2 separate regions of the Homo sapiens genome follow, and region 2 is linked to region 1. The links are contacts of gene promoters, found by promoter capture Hi-C in human tissues and cell types (Jung and others, 2019). All regions are on one chromosome and are shown on one strand. Each heading gives the region's core, a stretch centred on a gene start or on the middle of the fragment in contact. The rest is flanking DNA. Distances are from core to core; before and after follow the strand shown.

The links. Contacts are between HindIII fragments. The study calls those that stand out against the background at their distance.
Region 2: a contact is called between a fragment that was not itself captured here and the fragment with the promoter of PPP1R17 in region 1, in 3 of the 25 tissues and cell types used here (H1 embryonic stem cells, dorsolateral prefrontal cortex and stomach).

What each region holds. Positions count from the first base shown.
Region 1 is chr7:31,683,220-31,689,156 of GRCh38, forward strand. It overlaps PPP1R17 (protein phosphatase 1 regulatory subunit 17), which reads left to right and starts at 3,996. Exons shown (of 5, transcript NM_006658.5): 1 at 3,996-4,087. It also overlaps a transcript of PDE1C not described here. The HindIII fragment of the contact is 11,578 bases long and covers 1-5,937 here.
Region 2 is chr7:32,393,767-32,399,053 of GRCh38, forward strand. It overlaps a transcript of PDE1C not described here. Among named protein-coding and RNA genes, the nearest start is that of LSM5, 94 kb to the right of the region's middle. The HindIII fragment of the contact is 5,072 bases long and covers 760-5,287 here.

The DNA.
Region 1 (5,937 bases), core at 2,746-5,245:
TCACCATCAGGGGAAACTGTGCACAATATACAAGGGATCTATCTCTCTGTATTATTTCTTACAACTACATGTGAACTACAATTATCTCAATTAAAATGCCAATTAAAATAAAATAGGAAAAGACAACCATTCACCTTGCCTCTTATTTTAGTAGGTATTTATTGTTTAATGTGACAATTCATATCTGAAAGATTAAATATTTTCTATTTTTTTTCAGTGAAATGATAATAAATGACATCAGATTTTCTTATAGATTAAAGAGTTCCCTATTATCAGGACCTGACATGTGTTCAAAACTGCCCAGAGCAAAGACACAGTGCTCACTTACCAGGGGATATTGATCTGAGACAGCTCACTCTCCTCTCTAAGAGGCTGATGGAGACAACCAACGAGATCCAGCAAGATCTCTGGGATAAAACAGGCCTATGAATATTCAGTGCTCTCTCTTCCTCTCTCTTTCCCCCTCCCTGAATTGAGAAGGTGGAGCCTCATCACTCATCAGCACAGAAACTACCCCTAGATTGGCTATGAAAGGCAAATCTTTTAAGAGAACATTTTATAGATTATTGACTAAAATAAATTGTCTGGAAATGCTCAATCATTTTATAAATAATTCTTATTCATAAAGATGGGATATTTGTGATTAAAGTGAAATATATTCATTTAAAGCTAGTTACCATCAGGCATCCATCAGGAATGAAGGCACAAGTGAATTCAGCCATACATCAAAGGGCTCTTGGACTACAAATCATGCCATGGACACAACGGCTCCTTGCACTTATGCTGGGAGCGCTGTAGGCTGAGGGTCTATGACTTCAGCACTGCACATATGTGGTTGTTATTTAGAACTCTCCAAGGTATAGATTTACATTACCATCTGCCCTGTCAGTTGCTGTTTACATCTGCCTTAAAAGGGGGAGGGGCATAATCAATTAAAGAGTATGTACGAAGCCCTGGGAAAAATCAGCAACAGCAACAACAGCCCGAACTTGGGAGTAGTAGACATGTCTATTCAAAGGGGAAATCAGGGATTCATACTCTTCTGTCTTTGAAAATATTCCCTTTGAACTGTGGAAATTAAGTGACAAAAGGATTTGTTAAAATCTACAGGCTGGAATATGCTTAACACAATTAAGCTTCTCCAAAGAGCCTCAGAAAAATCTAAATTATATATTTTAAAATTCATTAATGATGAATTGGACTTTATAAAAATTTAAAAGCTATGCTTTGTGAAAGACTCCATGAAAAGATTAAAAATACAAACAGCAAACTGGGAGAAAGTATTTGCAACCCATATTTCTAATAAAGAACTAGTATCTGGAATATCTAGGATCCAGTTCAAAACTCAACAGTAATATAAAAAGTCCCATTAGAAGGTAGACAAGAGACATGAAGTAACATTTCACCAGAGAAACTACGCAGATGACAAATAAGCACATGAAAAAATGTTTAGCATAATTAGTCATGCACAGAATGCAAATTAAAACCATGACGAGATATTACTACTGAACCTACCTCTGAGAATGGCTTTTTAAAAATACTGGCAACACCAAATTCTGGTGAAGATACAGAGAAACTGGACCCTTCGTACATTGCTGGTGGGAATGGGAAATGCTACAGCCGCTTTGGTGTTATTGTAAAAGGAAACATGCAATTGTCAGTAATTACTCTTCTGGGCATTATCCCAGAGAAATTAAAAATTATGTTCACGCAAAAGCCTCTCTACATGAATGTTCATAGCAGCTTTATTTGTAATAGCCAAACATTGGTAACAATCCAGGTGTATATACAAGATGTCACACCAACTGTGGTCCATTCTATGGAATACTATTCAGCAATGACAAAGAACAAATTATTGACACACACAACAACCTGAATGGATCTCTAGGGAATAATGCTGAGTGAAAAAAAAAAAGCCAAACCCAAAAGGCTACCTACTGTATTATTCCATTATTAAAACATTCTTGAATTGACAAAATTATAGAAATGGAGAATAGATTCATGGTTGCCGAGTTTAAAAAGTGATTGGGAGCAGGAGGTTAGGAAGGAACGGAGGGGGGCATGGCTATATAACGGCAAGATAAGGGAGGCTTGTGGTGACAGAAATGTTCTGTATATATTCATGTAAATATCAACATACTGGTTTTGATATTGTAGGATAGTTTCATAAGATGTTACCATTGGATATAACTGCTTACGTATAGGAGATCTCCCTGTATTATCCCTCACAACGACATGTAGATCTATTACCTCAAAACAGTTTAATTCAAAAGAAGAATTCAAGGATTTCAGAAGGAAAGTATATCTTTTCCACTCAAGTGTGGACTGAAGATGCTGCTAACTCATTGGCCAACAAGGCTGTTGTTAAGAAGATAAAGTAAGGCAGGGTTTAATGCCTAGGTGATGGGTTGATAGGTCCAGCAAACCACCATGGCACACGTTTACCTATGTAACAAACCTGCACGTCCTGCACATGTGTCCCAGCACTGAAAATAAAATAAAATTTAAAAAATGAAGAAGATAAAGCAGGCAGTTTTGAACACAGACCTGCTTCTAGGCCCTGTCCCTCAACATCTAGGGCCTTCCCTTCCTAGACAAGAGCATCACCTTTCAGCAACCCTCATCTCTTCCCAGGAGGTCCCAATAAGGATCAACACAAAATGGAACAGGCAAAGAAGTCCATTCTCTGCTTATCTGTTACCATGGCAAAAGTCTAACCCTAGGAGTCAACCTCTTGGTGAGTTTACTATGGTTCTAGCCCTGTTATTTGGGATCCTGGCAAGTGGGAGGGAGGCACCAACAAACACATTGCCAGTGGCAAGCAGGCAGTTGAAACCAAGGGGTTGCCAGGGACCTGCTCTGCAGGGAACCTCAGGTAAGACTGGAAAAAATATGGATGTGTGGATGGTGCTCACGTATCTTCTGTGAGAACATATTTCTTGGGCATCACTGGGTGGTCCATTGGCTGCTATCAGGGGGTCTGGAGCCCTTCTAGTGGGTCCTGATACCTACCTGATCTCCCAGACTGGCCTTCCTGCTTTGGAGTCAAAACTGCTGCTCCTCCAAACCCCAGTGGGCTCTCCTCCAGTGAGCAGACCCAAAACATAGAACCTTCCTCTCCAAAAGACAGCATGTCTCCCGCCTCTCCCACCTTGCTTAAACATCCACTCTTGAGTGCCTACGTATTCCTAATATTGGTACATTTGGCTTTGTTCCTTTGAAGGAGGAAATTTTTTCTGGCCTGCACACTATAACCTATAGAGTTGGGGGCTGCTTTCTTTGCTATGTGCTGTTTGAAATGCTCTCTTTGCTGAGAGGTATTGCAAAGTGGTTACAAGCGTGGACCCTAGCATTTCATTACCCCATTCAAACCCTAGCTTCACCATGTGGGGAGACCTTGGTCAGATGATTTGGTAACTCTTGAGCCCCAGCTTCCTCATCAATAAAATGGGATGATGACTGTAGCTCATCTCACAAGGTTGGCCTGAGGGTTAAGTAAGTAGATATGTGTGAAGTCTCTAGAAGAGTGTCTGGCATTTTGGTAGCCTTACATAAATGTTAGCAGTAGCTACCCTTCTCTTCCTCCTCATGATAGTACTTTGAGAAGCAGCAATAGTGATTGAAAGTACTCTGGATTTAAACTTAAATAGCTTTGAGAGTCGAAATTAGCTGTGGCCTCTCTTGGGCATATCACTTAACTTCTTGTGCCTCAGTTTCCATATTTACAAAATCAGGCCAAAAAAAATCTATCGCATGGGAATTCAATGATGTAGCTGGTTTGTCTGAATTTCTCTGGTGTGCACACCGGAAACTCAAAGCACGACTCTATACTGTACTTTTGTAATGTACAATGATTGCCGTGGAGAGCAGCGATGGAGATGTTAGTCCTCTTTCCTTCTCCATCCCCCTTGCCCTGGTGCCTGTGAAACAGAGCATCCCCATGGCAACAGCAGCAGCTGGTCCCTAGATAAGAGGAGCTGGAGCCGGCCAGCAGCAGCCACTGCCGCAGAGGAGCCAGGCCCAGCCTCGGTGAGCACACACGCCCTCCCTGTCTCTCGCCTTCGCTTCCCTGCATCTGCGCTGATTGGTAAGTGCTTCAGATTTTTACTCCAAGAACTTTTGTGGTGAGAAAAGCAAGTTTCCAGTCAGTTACTGGGACAAAGAAGGCTGTAGCTGGTGGCACGGGGTTGTGCTTTATGGAGCAAGGCTAAGCTGGGGCCGAGTGGACAGCAGAAAAAGTTACCACTTTCAAGTCATTCTTCCAAGGGAGGGAATGGAGTTCTGTAAAAGACTGAACCCTCACAAACTCATTTGCAAAGTTTCAAGATGAAGTTGGTGTATCTGCATATTCACACAGGATAGAGAGGTTTATCTTCCAAGGCTGGGGAAAGTACAGAAAGTATGCTTCTCAAAACACATTCTCCATGCCCTACTTTAAGTCAGTCTCTCCTCCAGGAATACTGCCAATTTAGGTTTTCTAAATGAACAAATCTGATTTTAAAAGACGGTACTTTTTGACCTGAATTCAATCCTCTGGTTAAAAAGAGGTTTGACAATGAATATGTATTTTACATAGCCAGAGGGTGCATTAACGAGATACCACATAGGCTGTGGATACAACCTTCTACCCTTTTATTCCATCCAGTAAATCAAGACCTGATTACTTTGGGGGATATTCTTCAGAATACCGTATGGTAAGCTAAGTGTCAACTCGCTTCTGAGAATCAGTTCTATTATGTTCCCAAGATTTAGAAATGGGTTGGTTTTTGTCTTGAACTATTCTCATCTCATTACCAGCTTCAGAGAAGGCCAGAGATGGGATAAAGAGATAATTCTGATAGATCAATTTAGATAGACATATAATCACAAATGGAGGACTGAAAGATCCAAGAAGGTCCCTCACACTCACGAAAATATCAGTGTGTAGGACCTGGGCTCGGGACTCCATGCACATTCTATGGGTAATACTCTCAACAACCCTGGAGAAGAGCCACTATCTTCCCCCATTTAACAGATTTGAAAACTAAATTTTTGAGAGAACAGATAACTGTCCCAAGTTCACCCAGCTAGAGAGTGGTACAAGCAGCCAAACGTTGGCTTCTACCTTATATTGACTCACAGCATCCAATCTTAAAGTTGAGAGGAATTTTCTTCCCATAATTTAAACCGCATATTCTCACATCCAACTGAGAAAACCGCTCAATGATAAGAGAAAAGACAAAAAATCCAGACCAGCTTCTGACCACACACTGAACCAACTAATGTGTTTCAGCTCCGCTGGTGTGCCTGCCTTTCTGCAATATAGTGGGGTCCCTTTTCTGGCACCCAGTTCCTTCCCCCTTTCAGTTCCTGTTCTCAAAAGAGAAGGTGACCTTTGTCATTAACAATCCCTGTGTATTGTGACATCAATTTACATATTGCTGCTCTTAGTGGTATTTGCATTTACAAGTATCTCTCTGTAAAAAGAAAGGTTTTGTCCCTTGTGAAAAGGAAGGTAAGGATTAGTAAGAGGAAGTTACAAGAGTTTAAAATCTGAAATCCTGAAATCCTTTCTCAAACCCTGAAATCATATCTCTTGGTCTCTTGCATACTACACTGAATACCTACATTCTGTCAAACAACCACAACCAGAAGAGTAATTCGATCAATACTCTTTCATTCTCTAATTAAGAAATCTGAAACATTTTGAAAACCAAAAGGTTTGTTGTTAAGTTCAACACAAACTCATTTGGTAGCAAAGCCTGACCTGAAAGAATGTGAATTTTTTGTGGTTTGTCTTTATGTCACTTAGTGTGAATATTCATAGTTTTGCTGCAGAAATAATGGATGTGACTGCTGGTGCTCCTTGAGACCCCTCTAGAGCTGTTATATAATTTAAACAGTCCTGATTTCCACAGCACGTTTGACTCCAGGCTTGTCACAAGGGTGGGTGGCCAA
Region 2 (5,287 bases), core at 2,046-4,545, 710 kb after region 1:
TATGCCACTTGAATTTGGAGGCCTCTTCAGATTTCCTGCCAAATATCTCACCTGAATTTTTTCCAACACTAAAGTCACATATTTTGTCTTATTTTGTCTTTTGCCAGGAACATCAACACTCATCTCCATTTTATATCTACCCTTAACCATGTTTTATGAGCTATTTTCCCAGTGCCACAAACAGTTCAACATTTGTGGGAAATGTATACCCTTCATGCTTTTTTAAGATTGATAAAAGAAAAAATACAGGTTACTAGTGACTCAGAAGTGATATCATACAGATCAGTCATTGTACAAAGCTGTTGTGGACAAGTTAACTGTTGAGAAATAGGCACACATAAAGCTTCCGAGTTATCTGCCTCTACATAGAGACCCCTGAGGCTTAGGTGCATGGTCTGCTAGTTGTGGGAAACTATGAAATGTCTCTCTGATTAAATGTTTCTTCAAACAATACAGGATTATCTGGAAAGAATGAAATAGGGAAAACAGTCAAAAGAGTTTTTTTAAAAAGGAGGCTGAAGCAAAGGTGTAACAGGGATGTCCAATTATTTGAAGGACTGCTGATATGGTTTAGATATTTGCCCCCTCCAAATCTCAGGTTGAAATCTCAGGTTGATCCTCATTTTGGAAGTGGGGCCTACTAGAAGGTGTTTGGGTGATGGGGGAGGATCCCTCATTAATGGCTGGGTGCCATTCTCACAGGATTAAGTGAGTTCTCACTCTTAGTTCCTGTGAGACCTGGTTATTAAAAAGAGTCTGGGTTGGGCACATTGACTCATGCCTGTAATCTCAGCACTTTGGGAGGCTGATGCAGGAGGCTCACTTGAGACCAGGAGTTCAAGACCAGCCTGGACAACATGGTGAAATCCCAACTCTACAAAAAATACAAATATTAGCCAGGTGTGGTGGTGTGCACCTATAGTGCCAGCTAATCAGGAGGTTGAGGTGGAGGTGGAAGGATAGCTTGAGCCCAGGAGGCTAAGACTGCAGTGAACCATGATCATGCCACTGCACTCCAGCCTGGGTGACAGAGCGAGACCCTGTCTGAAAAAAATATCTAAATAAATAAAAGAGTCTGGAACCTTCCTCCCTTTTCTCTCTCTCTCTTCCTCTCTCACCTCCTCTCTCACCGTGTGACATGCTGGCTCCTCCTTGGCCTTCTGTCATGATTGGAAGCTTTCTGAGTTCCTCTCCAGAAGCAGATCTGGTGCCATGCTTCTTGTACAGCCTGCAGAGTTGTGAGCCAGATAAACCTCTTTCTCTATAAATTACCCAGCCTCAGGTATTCCTTTAGAGCAACGGCAAAATGAATTGAGACAACTGCGATATGGAAAAGGTGAGAAATCTGGCCTATAATCATTCATTTATTCAATAACTATTTGAGCACATGCTATGTGCCAAGAACTGTACTCAATGCTAGTAATACAAAGATGGGGAGAAACAAACATCAAGGAGGAAAAGACATGTAAAACACATACCTCACAATGTCATAAGTGCAGCAGTCAAAACAGGTACAGGGGGAAGTGTGCTTTGGGAGGTCAGGGAAGGCTTCCTGGAGGAGGTGACTCTTCAACTGAGTTTACAGAGAAAAGTAAAAGATTTCCAGAAAGATGAGGGGGGCAAGAAACTACAGATAGAGGCATCAGCAGAGGCACAAAGGCATAAAAAGGGATATGGGTGAGGAAATAATGTGATTCCATATTGCTAGGATAGAAGGTGGTGAGGTGGGGGGTAGTGGTAGAGGAGGTGGACAGGTGCGCAGAAGCCAGTGAGGATGGGCTTAGACTGTTGATCTTCATCCTATCAGCAAGCTGGGAAGTGAACTTACAGTTTTTATCTGTTATTCCAATGACCTAAACTAAAACCTGGGGTAAGGCTATAAATTACAGAGAAAAAACTACTGGGTCAGTACAAGAAGAAACATTTTAGTTAGCTACAGCTACAAAGCTAAGAAGTTGTTTTACAGACTCTTGATCTTCACGAGTAGCAGACAGAGATATTTGTTAGAGATATAATAAAATTTGTTAGAGATATAATAAAAAGCATTCTCAGGAAAACCTTTATGAGGAAAACTTTAAAACACTCCTGATTGAACAATTCTAAAAAAAATATTTTACTTTCTTTACTTTTTCTTCTTGCCTTCAAATTTAATTTACAGGAAAAACATATTTTCTTTTTGGATAGACAACATAGTATTATATCTTAAAAACTCAGTAGTCCCTAAATTAATTTAAAAGTGAACGCAATCACAATAAAAATATCAACAAGCTTTTTTAAAATAATGGAGCTAGATAAGTTGATACTAAAGTTTATATGGCAAAAGAATCATAAAATAGCTGGAAAACCCAAAAGAGAAAAGCTATGAGGGTGGACTAGCCCCAGCAGAGAGTAAAACATACTATTAAGCTTCCATAATTAAAATGGATATGTAGCCAGGTGCAGTGGCTCACACCTGTAATCCCAACACTTTGGGAGGCTGAGGCAGGTGGATTGCTTGAGCCCAGGAATTCAAGAGCAGCCAGGGCAACATGGCAAAACCCTGTCTCTATAAAAATACAAAAATTGGCTGGGCATGGTGGTGCGTGCCTGTAGTCCCAGCTACTAGGGAGACTGAAGTGAGAGGATCACTTGAGCCCAGGAGGTCGAGGTGGCAGTGAGCAGAGATCATGCCACTGCACTCCAGCCTGAACAACAGAGTGAGACCTTGTGTCAAAAAACAAAAATAAAAAATAAAGTGGATATGCATATTGAAGTATGGGGGGGGGGAGTGTTGTAATGTCTTCAACTTTCTTTGAAATGCATGAAAAAATAAGATGAATTGATGGATGAATAGAGAGATAAGAGATGGATAAGTATGTGACAAAGCAAATGTAATGAAGTGTTCACTGTAGAATACAGACAGATACATGGGTTTCACTGTAAAATTCTTTCAACTTTGTGTATGTTTGTTATAGTAAAATGTTTTTTTTAAACTGGTGCCAAAAAAATAAAAACAACGTGAAACCAGCATAAGAATAAATCACAGGGAAATGTAATGAACAAACTGCAAAAACAGTCCAAAGTACACATGGAAATCTAATATTTGATACAGGTGGTATCTCAAATCATTTAGAGAAGAGATGAACATTTTATCAAATGACTTAAGGACAACTTCATAACCATTTGGAAAAAGATTGATTTAGATGCATATCTCACACCATAAACAAGGAAAAACTTAAAAAGGATCAGAGACCTAAAATTAAAAAACGAAACCAAATACTACATGAAAACATGGGTGAATTTCTCTACAAACTCCAGGTAGGGAAAAGCTTCCTAACTATGACTCAAAATCCAGATGCAATAAAGGAAAAGGTCTATAAATTTTACTATACTGAAATATACTTTCATGTGACAAAAAATATCATAACCAAAGCCGAAAAAGAAAATGTTCATAACATATAACAGATAAAGGGCCAATATCCTAATATATTTTTAACTCTTAAAAATTGAGAGGGACTAATGCCAGAAACCCAGAAAAAAATAAGTAAAAGACATGAACAGAAAACTTAAACAAAAATATATTAAACTTCATCCATAATTTTTTGATGCAAACTATAACTACCCCGAGATACCATTTCTCACATATCAGATTGACGGAAATTTAGAAGCTTGACAACATATTGTCAAGGCTGGAGGCAAATACAAGTTCTTATTCATTGCTAGTGGGAATGCAAACTGGTTCAGCTCTTGTAGAGGAGAATTTGGCAAATTTTTAAAAATTACATGTGCATTTGCCTAGCAATCTCATTTCTAGACCTTTAACTTGATGATACACCTCCAAACTATATGAAAATACATATATACAAGGTTATACATTGCAACTTTATTTGTAATTGCAATATATTGGAAACAATCTAAATGCCTATAGGAGAGAACATGGTTGAATAAATTATGGAACATCTGCAACTGTTTAAGAAAAAAAAGTGAGGGTCAGGCACGGTGGCTCACGCCTGTAATCTCAGCACTTTGGGAGGCCCAGGTGGGCAGATCATGAGGTCAGAGTTCGAGACTAGTCTGGCCAACATGGTGAAACCTCATCTCTACTAAAGATACAAAAAAAAAAAATTAGCCGGGCATGGTGGCATGCACCTGTAATCCCAGCACTTTGGGAGGCCAAGGCAGGTAGATCATGAGGTCAGGAGATCGAGACCATCCTGGCTAACACAGTGACACCCCTCATCTACTAAAAATAAAAAAATTAGCCGGGGGTGGTGGCGGGCGCCTGTAGTCCCAGCTACTCTGGAGGCTGAGGCAGGAGAATGGCGTGAACCCAGCAGGCGGAGCTTGCAGTGAGCCGAGATCGCGCCACTGCACTCCAGCCTGGGCTGCAGAGCAAGACTCCGTCTCAAAAAAAAAAATTAGCCAAGCATGATGGCATGCACCTGTAATCCCAGCTACTCAGGAGGCTGAGGCAGGAGAATCAGTTGAACTCAGGAGGCAGAGCTTGCAGTGAGCCGAGATTGCGCCAGCCTGGGTGACAGGGCGAGACTCCGTCTCAAAAAAAAAAAAAAGAAAAAGAAAAAGTGAGGAAGATCTGTATGAACTGATACGGGATGATTTCCAAGATCACTTGGTAGGAACTGTGATTTTTTTTTTCTTTTGAGACAGAGTCTTGCTCTGTCACCCAGGGTAGAGTGCAGTGGCGCAATCTTGGCTGGCCACAACCTCCACTACCTGGGTTCAAGTGATTCTCCTGCCTCAGCCTCCCAAGTAGCTGGGATTACAGGTGCATGCCACCAAACCCAGCTGATATTTGTATTTTTAGTAGAGATGGGGTTTCACCATATTGGCCAGGCAGGTCTCAAACTCCTGACCTCAAGTGATCCTCCCGTCTCGGCCTCCCAAAGTGCTGGGATTACAGGCGTGAACCACGGTGCCCGGCCAGAACTGTGATCCTAGCTGAGGGACAGCCAGCTAATGGTGACCCTACAGGAAGGGAACTTGGGGGAATAAATGACCTGATATTACTCTCCTTCCATCCTCCATTCTTCGGCACATTCTCATTGGCACAACCCAAACAGAAGACAGAAAGTAAGAGCAGACCATAAAGGTCAGCCTCCCAGATTAGGTAAGGGTGGAAAGTGGGTTTGGAGGATTAAACAGATCACCAGCACATAGGGTAACTTTTCCTCTTGCTAGACATTTAGTTTGCATCTGATTCTTCACTATTACAAATAGTGAACACCCTTACCCAGCAAATGTTTAACTGGGGGAGGGGCCCTGATTTGTGGTGTTTTCCACGGTATTC